Regions from separate parts of the Homo sapiens genome. Here region 1 is linked to region 2. The links are contacts of gene promoters, found by promoter capture Hi-C in human tissues and cell types (Jung and others, 2019). All regions are on one chromosome and are shown on one strand. Each heading gives the region's core, a stretch centred on a gene start or on the middle of the fragment in contact. The rest is flanking DNA. Distances are from core to core; before and after follow the strand shown. Region 1 has its middle 26 kb from the start of NRGN. Region 2 holds the start of VSIG2 (V-set and immunoglobulin domain containing 2).

The links. The method cuts DNA at HindIII sites, captures the fragments that hold promoters and counts their contacts. A contact is called where the count stands out against the background at its distance.
Region 1: a contact is called between a fragment that was not itself captured here and the fragment with the promoter of VSIG2 in region 2, in 1 of the 25 tissues and cell types used here (neural progenitor cells).

What each region holds. Positions count from the first base shown.
Region 1 is chr11:124,711,996-124,715,893 of GRCh38, forward strand. No RefSeq gene overlaps it. Among named protein-coding and RNA genes, the nearest start is that of NRGN, 26 kb to the right of the region's middle. The HindIII fragment of the contact is 4,012 bases long and covers 125-3,898 here.
Region 2 is chr11:124,750,728-124,754,658 of GRCh38, forward strand. It overlaps VSIG2 (V-set and immunoglobulin domain containing 2), which reads right to left and starts at 1,528. Exons shown (of 7, transcript NM_014312.5): 1 at 1,350-1,528; 2 at 696-853; 3 at 1-194. The coding sequence starts at 1,410. It overlaps ESAM (endothelial cell adhesion molecule), which reads right to left. Exons shown (of 7, transcript NM_138961.3): 5 at 3,914-3,931; 6 at 3,487-3,613; 7 at 2,399-3,234. The coding sequence ends at 2,919. RefSeq lists enhancers at 726-1,287, 3,646-3,931. The HindIII fragment of the contact is 14,367 bases long and covers 1-3,931 here.

The DNA of each region.
Region 1 (3,898 bases), core at 881-3,380, 38 kb before region 2:
AACAGTTAAATCGAATGCATTGCCTCACATGGTTATCATTTTTGTGATAAGAACACTTAGATTTGCTCTCTTTGCATTTTTTTTCTTTTTCTTTTATTTTGTATTTGAGATGGAGTCTTGCTCTGTCACCCAGGCTGGAGTACAGTGGTGTGATCTTGGCTCACTGCAACCTCTGCCTCCCAGGCTTAAGTGATCTTCCCACCTCAGCCTCTCAAGTAGTTGGGATTACAGGTGCACGCCACCATGCCTGGCTAACTTTTTTTTGTATTTTTAGTAGGGATGGGGTTTTGCCATGTTGCCAAGGCTGGTCTTGAACTCCTGGACTTAAGTGATCCACTTGCCTCGGCCTCCCAAAGTGCTGGGATTACAGTTGTGAGCCACTGAGCCTGGCCACATTTTTCAAACATACAATATATCATCATTAACTATAGTCATTGTGCTATACAATAGATCTCTCGAACTTATTTATCCTAACTGTAATTATGCAGTTATGCATCTCTTAATGACAGGGATACATACTGAGAACTCTGCCTTTAGACGATGTTATCATTGTGCAAACATCATAGAGTGTACTTACACAAACCTTAGATGATACAGCCCACTACACACCTAAGCTATATGGTATAGTCTATTGCTCCTGTAACAAACCTGTACAGCATGTTATTGTACTGAATACTGTAGGCAATTGTGGCACAATGGCTAGTATTTGTGTATCTAAACATACCTAAACATAGAAAAGGTACAGTAAAAGTACAGTATAAAAGATTAAAAATGATACACCCGTATAGGGCACTCACCATGAATGGCGCTTGCAGGACTGGAAGTTGCTCTGGGTGAGTCAGTGAGTGACTGGTGAGTGAATGTGAAGGCCTAGGACATTACCATACACTACTGTAGACTTTGTCAACACTGTAAACACTGTACACTTAGGCTACACTAAATTTGTAAAAAATAATAATAAGTGTGCTACAAGGTTAGGATTGCTACGACCTCACTAGATTACAGGAATTTCTTCAACTAACTCCATCATAATCTAATGGAACCACCATTGTATATGCCATCTGTCATTGACTGAAATGTCATTACATGACACATGATGGTATATCTTTTGACCAACACCTCCCTATCCCCCCATCAACTACTCAAGCCTCTGGTCATCACCATTCTCCTTTCTACTTCCGTGAGATGGACTGTTTTAGATTCCACATATGACTGAAATCATTCAGTGTTCATTTTTCTGTGCCTGGCTTATTTCACTTAACATAATGTCCTCTGGGTTCATCCATGTCCATATGAATGACAGGATTCCGTTCTTTTTTACCGCCCAGTAGTATTCCATTGTGTGTATGTACCACTTTTTTTTTTTTTTTCGAGATGGAGTCTCACCCTGTTGCCCAGGCTGGAGTGCAGTGGCACAATCTCAGCTCAGTTCAAGCTCTGCCTCCTGGGTTCATGCCATTCTCCTGCTTCAGCCTCCAGAGTAGCTGGGACTACAGGTGCCCGCCACCACGCCAGGCTAATTTTTTTGTATTTTTAGTAGAGATGGACTTTCACCATGTTAGCCAGGATGGTCTCGATTTCCTGACCTCGTGATCTGCCTGCCTCAGCCTCTCAAAGTGCTGGGATTACAGGTGTGAGCCACAGCGCCCAGCCCCACATTTTCTTTATCCATTCATCTGTTGATGAACACTTAGATTGATTCCATATCTTGGTTATTGTGAGTAATGCTGCAATAAACATGGGAGTGCAGATAGCTCTTCAACATATTGATTTTATTTCCTTTAGATACATACACAGTAGTGGGATTGTCTTCAAACTTCTCAAGGAAATTATTTCAAACCTAGAATTCTGTGTCACCAAACTGTCCTACAAGTATGAGGGTAAAACAAAGATATTTTCAGACACACAATGGCTTAGATATTTTCTATTTTCCCTTCCAGACCTATTCTTCATTGTGTTTATGCACTAGGAGGATTTTTTAAATAAACTGCATCAATGAGCTCCTTAGCCTTCTAGGTTGGACAATGGCAGGCACCAGGAGGAGATCAGAGGGTGGGAGGAGAGCAAGGTGATGCTATTCATTCCCCTTGCCTCCCTCCCTGGTTCTCATGGATTGCCTGCATCCCTCAACCAAAGGCCACAGCTCTTATCATACAGTCCTCTCCTCTAGCTACTCTCCAGGTTCTAGTAACTGCTTCCTCCCCTTGATCCTTCGGCCTACCATCAACATCTCTGAGGTTCTGTCCCATCTCTTAATGTTTTTTATTTACTCCAGAGCATCAGCTATCTATTGCAACATTAATGCTGCATAACCACTACGCCAAAGTCCAGTGTCTTTTAAAAGACTATTTTTTTCTCATACATCTGCAGGTCAGCTAGAGTGGGGCTGAGTTACGCTGGGCTCAGTTGAGCATCTTTACCTCATGCCTTGCTAGCTAGAGCAGCTATGCTTCCCACTGTAGATCTATGAGGTGGTTGGAGCAACTCTGTTCCCCATGTATCTCATCTTCATTAGATCAGCAAACATGTTGCTTGTGGCAGCAGAGGCACACAAGAACAAACAAAAATACATGATGCCTATGAAAGCCTAAGCTTAGAACTGCCATGCTGTCATTCCCACTCGCATGTCATTGGCTAAAACAAATCACACGGCCAAGCCCAACGACACAAGGCAGGGAAGCACGGTCCACCCATCAAGAGGGCATGAAAGGATACAGATACAGATAAGAATGAAGAATTGAAGTCAATTTTTTAATCTGCCACCCTGCCTTCATCTTTATAAATATTACCTTTATTAAATCCACGTCAATTACCCCTATTCTCGTGTACCTGAGCACCTAGAGCTTAGCCACATTTGAGTGTGGCTTAGTGGTTGCCTCATGTTGCCTTCTGGGTTCCAGAGAAATATAGGAATAGGTACCAGGAAGGGCCCAAGAAAACAGAACCCCACAGTAGGATTCTGAAATTCTATTGCTTTTATACTTAAGAAGCACAAAACTTCTTAAGTAACCTCCTTACCAGGAGAACAGTGGATACTGGTAATCCATGGCATTCAGTGACATAACAGTGACTAGACTTACCATTGTTGGTGGCAAGGAATAAATTCAAGGAGGATGGCAATAGAAATAAAGTGACTGTGGTACTTAGTCACCATGGTGACAATAGTGATTATAAAGACTGTGGAGTCAACTGACTGTCTCTGATGGCTCTAAAGAGTAAACACGGAAAAAAACATATTGAAAGCCTTGCATACCCAACTGAAAACATTATGGGAAATCAGAACATCTCTACAGTAGCTCTAATGGAGTCCTTCTCCTCTAGTCAATGGACTGATATGGAAGAAGACCACATCTGAAAAATGATGTTAATAGCTGCAGAGATGCAAAACCAATTAAATACTCAAATCCTTCCGTTTCAATTTCTTACAATATGCAAAGGGTACTAAGGGAGAGAGATGGGACCCTGAGAGATGCGATATAGACATTTGTGTAGACATGGATGAGACTAAGAATCTGAATCCTAAAATCCCCCTAAACCTCTCTGAGGAGGTTTATACCCTGCAACCCCAACTCCATTGAATAAAATCCTTTCAATGACTATTCCTCAGGCAGTTCCCTTACAAAAAAAAAATGTGACTTTCCTCAAGACCCACCTCCACTGCCCCTCATTGCTTCCAGATCCACAAAGAAAGTAAAATGCCAGCATAGTCCAGATTGCAAAGTATAGAGGCTAGGCCTCAAGGAGATAGACTTTATGCCAAAAGAGTTGCAGAACTTCATTAACTTTTATCAGCAGGAGTCTGGAGAACATTTATTTAAGTGGATTGTAAGGTTGTTAGGCCAAGAAGAATGTAACTTAAGACTTGATTAAGCTGAATTTATTGAAATGGGTGCACAAT
Region 2 (3,931 bases), core at 278-2,777:
TTGATTAGCCCCAACCCATTGGTGTAGAAATCTGGTGGGTTGTTGACTTGGCAGAGGTAGGTTCCAGTATCTGAGGGGTGGACGTCAGTCAGTTTCAGTGTGGCCACCCCCACTGTGGGGGGGTTCTGAAGCAGGCTGACCCGCTTTGACTTAGAACCAGTTGGATACAGATGGCCATTGGTGAAGTACAGGATCTGGGGAGAGGCAGAAGACACACATATGTGCCTGTTTCTGCCTGGCATCAACTCTACAGTCCTTCCTCATCAAAGTGGGTATAAGAGGCCTCTGACTTACATCAGCCAGGGAGGCTGATACCCTTAAGCTGGAACTCCAAAGGTCTCTCTGTCCCCAAACACCACCCCCTTTCAGGTGCTAAATGAACCTGATCCATTGGTCTCTCTCTCTCTCTCTCAAAGAGAGAGGCAGAAGAGGCAGCATATTATCTTGGTATCAGTCACAACACCTTAGTGTCAATGGATACACTAAGGCAGGGGAGTTGGAAATAGGAGCTATGGAAGAGGAAAGGAAGATACACGGTCAGGCAGACTGCAGCTCTGAAAAGATCTAGGGAGAGCCCACTTACCTTTTCATCCAAGCATACTGATCCCCAAACTCCCCCTCCCGACCCCATGCCCTCATCCTGGGCTCCTGTCCCTCCAGGCCAACCCAGCTTCATGCAGTCGCTCTCAGCTCACTGGATGGGACTCAGAGATGGGTTTCCCAGGCTGCACAAAGCTCCACTCCAGGGCGAAGCTGTCTCCCACCGACGTGCTGTAGGTGCAGGTCAGCTCGGCTGTCTTCCCCAGGGGCGTGCTCAGCGGCTCTGTGGGTACCTTCACCTCCACGGCCAGCCCTGGGGCCGGGGACCAGAGGGAGGTGGGAACCCAAATTCCAGTGATCTGGAGGGTCGGGCCCACCCCCGGGCATCTATATTGGAAGCTGGGGGCTCCCTCCCCAGAGCACAACCCTCTCCCCTCAATCCAACCCCTCCCTTCCCAAAACCTGAGGTTTCCGGGAGGGGCCGGGTCTTTGTGGGTAAAAGAGCCGGAACCGGGCCAGGTAAGAGGGTGTGTGTGTTTAGCAGAGAAAGGAAAACACTAGCCCTGCGGTGGGGTGGTTCAGGCCTGTGCCGCGGAGAGGCCCAACTCGCTCGCCGGCTTGGGGGTCTCTCTCCTACGCCCTCCGGGCCTTGGACACCCCCTCTCCGGCCTCACCTCAGGCGCCTTAGGGCCCCTGGCGCCCACGGCAGCCTCATCTGGCCTGGCGGGGACAGAGTGGGTCCGAGGAGCCGGGGAAGCCAGGCCTATGCCCCCCAGCCCTCGCCGTGGTCCCGCCCGGCCCCTCCTCACCACTCAGGCACAGGAAGCCTAGCAGGGCCCCGCAGAGAAAGGGCCCCGGGAGCTCGGCCATGGCCGCGTCCGGCCGTCCTGTCCTGCTCCTGCCAGGTGGGCGGTCAAGGTCGGTCTGGGTGTCGGGCAGGGAAGGGAGCACCCAAGGGCAGCCGCCCGGGCTGGGCAGGAGCGAGACTGGTATCTCAGAGCAAACAGGGGAGAGGCCGGCGCCGCAGGTTAAAAAAAAAAAAAAGTGCTCCTCCCTCCTCTCCTCCAGCCCCGATTCTGCAATCCCTCTGTCCCTTCTTCCTCCTTCCTTCCTCTTCTCCCCAAGGTCTGAAGCTGTCCGGCCTTGGGAAAAGCGCTGGGCTTGGGGTGGGCCTTCTGCAGAGACGGAAGGAAAGCTGACTTTGGAAGGCGTCCTGATACCCCAGAGCTGGCAAGGGGAGTCCCCACCTCGGAGCCTCACTGTGAGTGTGAGCCCCAGGCCGCAGACCCTTCCTGTCCACAGCGCTTTTCATTTCACCACTTACTGAGGTAGGAGTCTCTGTAGAAATGAGCATCTCTCCATTTCCAGAGCCACTCCATTTTAGGGGCAGAGAAACTGAGACCTAAAGGAGACCTCACCCTTGGTAGGAAAGAACATGGCAGAACTTGGACACAGACCTGCACCTCATACTATGCCCAGCTCTCCCTCAGTAACAACAGAGATCTCTTCCAGATGGGCAAGGAGTGTTTTGTTAAGGATTCCGTGGTGTGGGAGAGGAGCCCACGTGAGCTTCCTCTCCCCTGTCCCTGAAGAGGAAGCAGATGAGGTACACGTACCCCCTAGCCGGGAGCACTCAAGCTCCAGCAGAAAGCGTATCAACTCCATCCCTCTGCTGTTCAGAGTAGCTTAGAGTCTCCTCCCCTTCTCCACGTGACAAACAAGGACCCTTCTAAACACTAGAAGAGCTGCTCTAAGCCTGTGGGGGGAAGCCCTCCTGGGTACACAGCTTGGGAAGGGGTCCACTTTGCATCCTCCTGAAGCTCAATTTCAAGAATTCTTAGTTTGAAAAGGCAACTTGTTTCTTATCTCATACAAACATTATGTATCTTTATTTAAATTTGCAAATGAAAACAACACATATTTCATGTTAGTTTTAATAAGAGATTCCCTATCCTCTGCCCCAGTAAAACCTAACCAAGCCAGCCTGACAGGTTATATCAATACAGGGAGCTGGAGTGGGAGCCAAGGGTGGTGTTAGATAGGGGTGGGGTACAGATCAAGGGGGCCTGGGAGACTCAGTGACTGGAAGTCTCTGCCCCTCACTCTTGGTGAGTAGCTAATTTCAGCAGCTGGCTTCATAAGGAGGAGTCAGGGGTGGGTGGAGGCTCCTCCCAATTCCAGATCCACTTCCTCTTCTCCTTCTGTCTCCTGGACACTTAGGTCTTACTGAGATGGTTTTCCCACAGTAAAGAGAGGTGGGGGCAGAGTACTAAGGGTCAGGAGTGTGACTCTTTCCCATGACTCAGGCCTCTGTGCTAGAGGTGACCCTTATAGGAAGGAGAGACCCCAAATCCTTTAGCCAATGAGTGGTGGGGTCATCATACCAGAGAGCCAGCTTGACTCTGGGCAGGCACCATCACAGGCACAGCACCCATGCGGCTCAAGCCAGAGGAAGAAACCCCACCAGGGATGGGGGATATTGGTTGAGGGTGGGCCCCATCTGTCGTGGGCAGTCTTGGTGAGGGCAGGGCCTGGCTGGAGAGACTGGGCGTGGGGGTCAATGCACCAGGCCTGGGAGGGCCATGGGGTGGCCGGAGGGCTCGTGCGGAGGTGACAGAGGAAAGGGTCCCATTCTTGGAGATTGTGTCTGAGCTCTTGGGCCAGGGCAGGGTCCGGGGAGCAATGGCATCCTCCCTAGTCATCAAAGAAATAACAAGAGGTCAGAAGTGGGTGGGGGAAGGAGGAGAGAGTTTCTACCTGCTTGGTCTTATATACCACCTCTGCCTGCACACTTCAGTACTCCTTTCCCTCTCCCTTAAAACCTGCCCATAGGAATGATGTTTCAGCCACTGACCCCATCCCAATAGATGAGAGCTGCCTGAATTCCCAGCCTCTGTGAGGAGAGCTGGGAGAGCCCCCGCTGCAGCAGACACCAGGGACACTTACTTGATATCATTGGCTGGCTCCTCCAGGGCCTTGCCCCGGCGGTGGTACAAGAGGACCAGCCCAGCCAGCAACCCCAGTCCAACCAGGGTACCCACAACAGCTCCAGCAACCACTGCAGCTCCAGGCCCTGGAAAAGGCGTCGTGTCAGAGGAGGACACCCAGCTGAGGGGTTCTCACCCCTCTCCAATCCCACTCTCCCCACCCCATCTGCCACCATACACATTCCCTCTTTTTCCCTGTCAAGAAGAGGGGTGGCTGTTGAGCAGGAAATGACCAGTCACTGACCAACCATTTGTACAAACATTTGATCAGGGGAAGCTCCGTGCCCTGCTACAGAGACAGGCCTCAGCAGACAGGCCTCCTCCCCACTTGCAACCCCTCCCCCACCATTGACCACTCTTCTTAACCACACTTACCCCTCACTGACCTGTGCTCACTTCCAGCG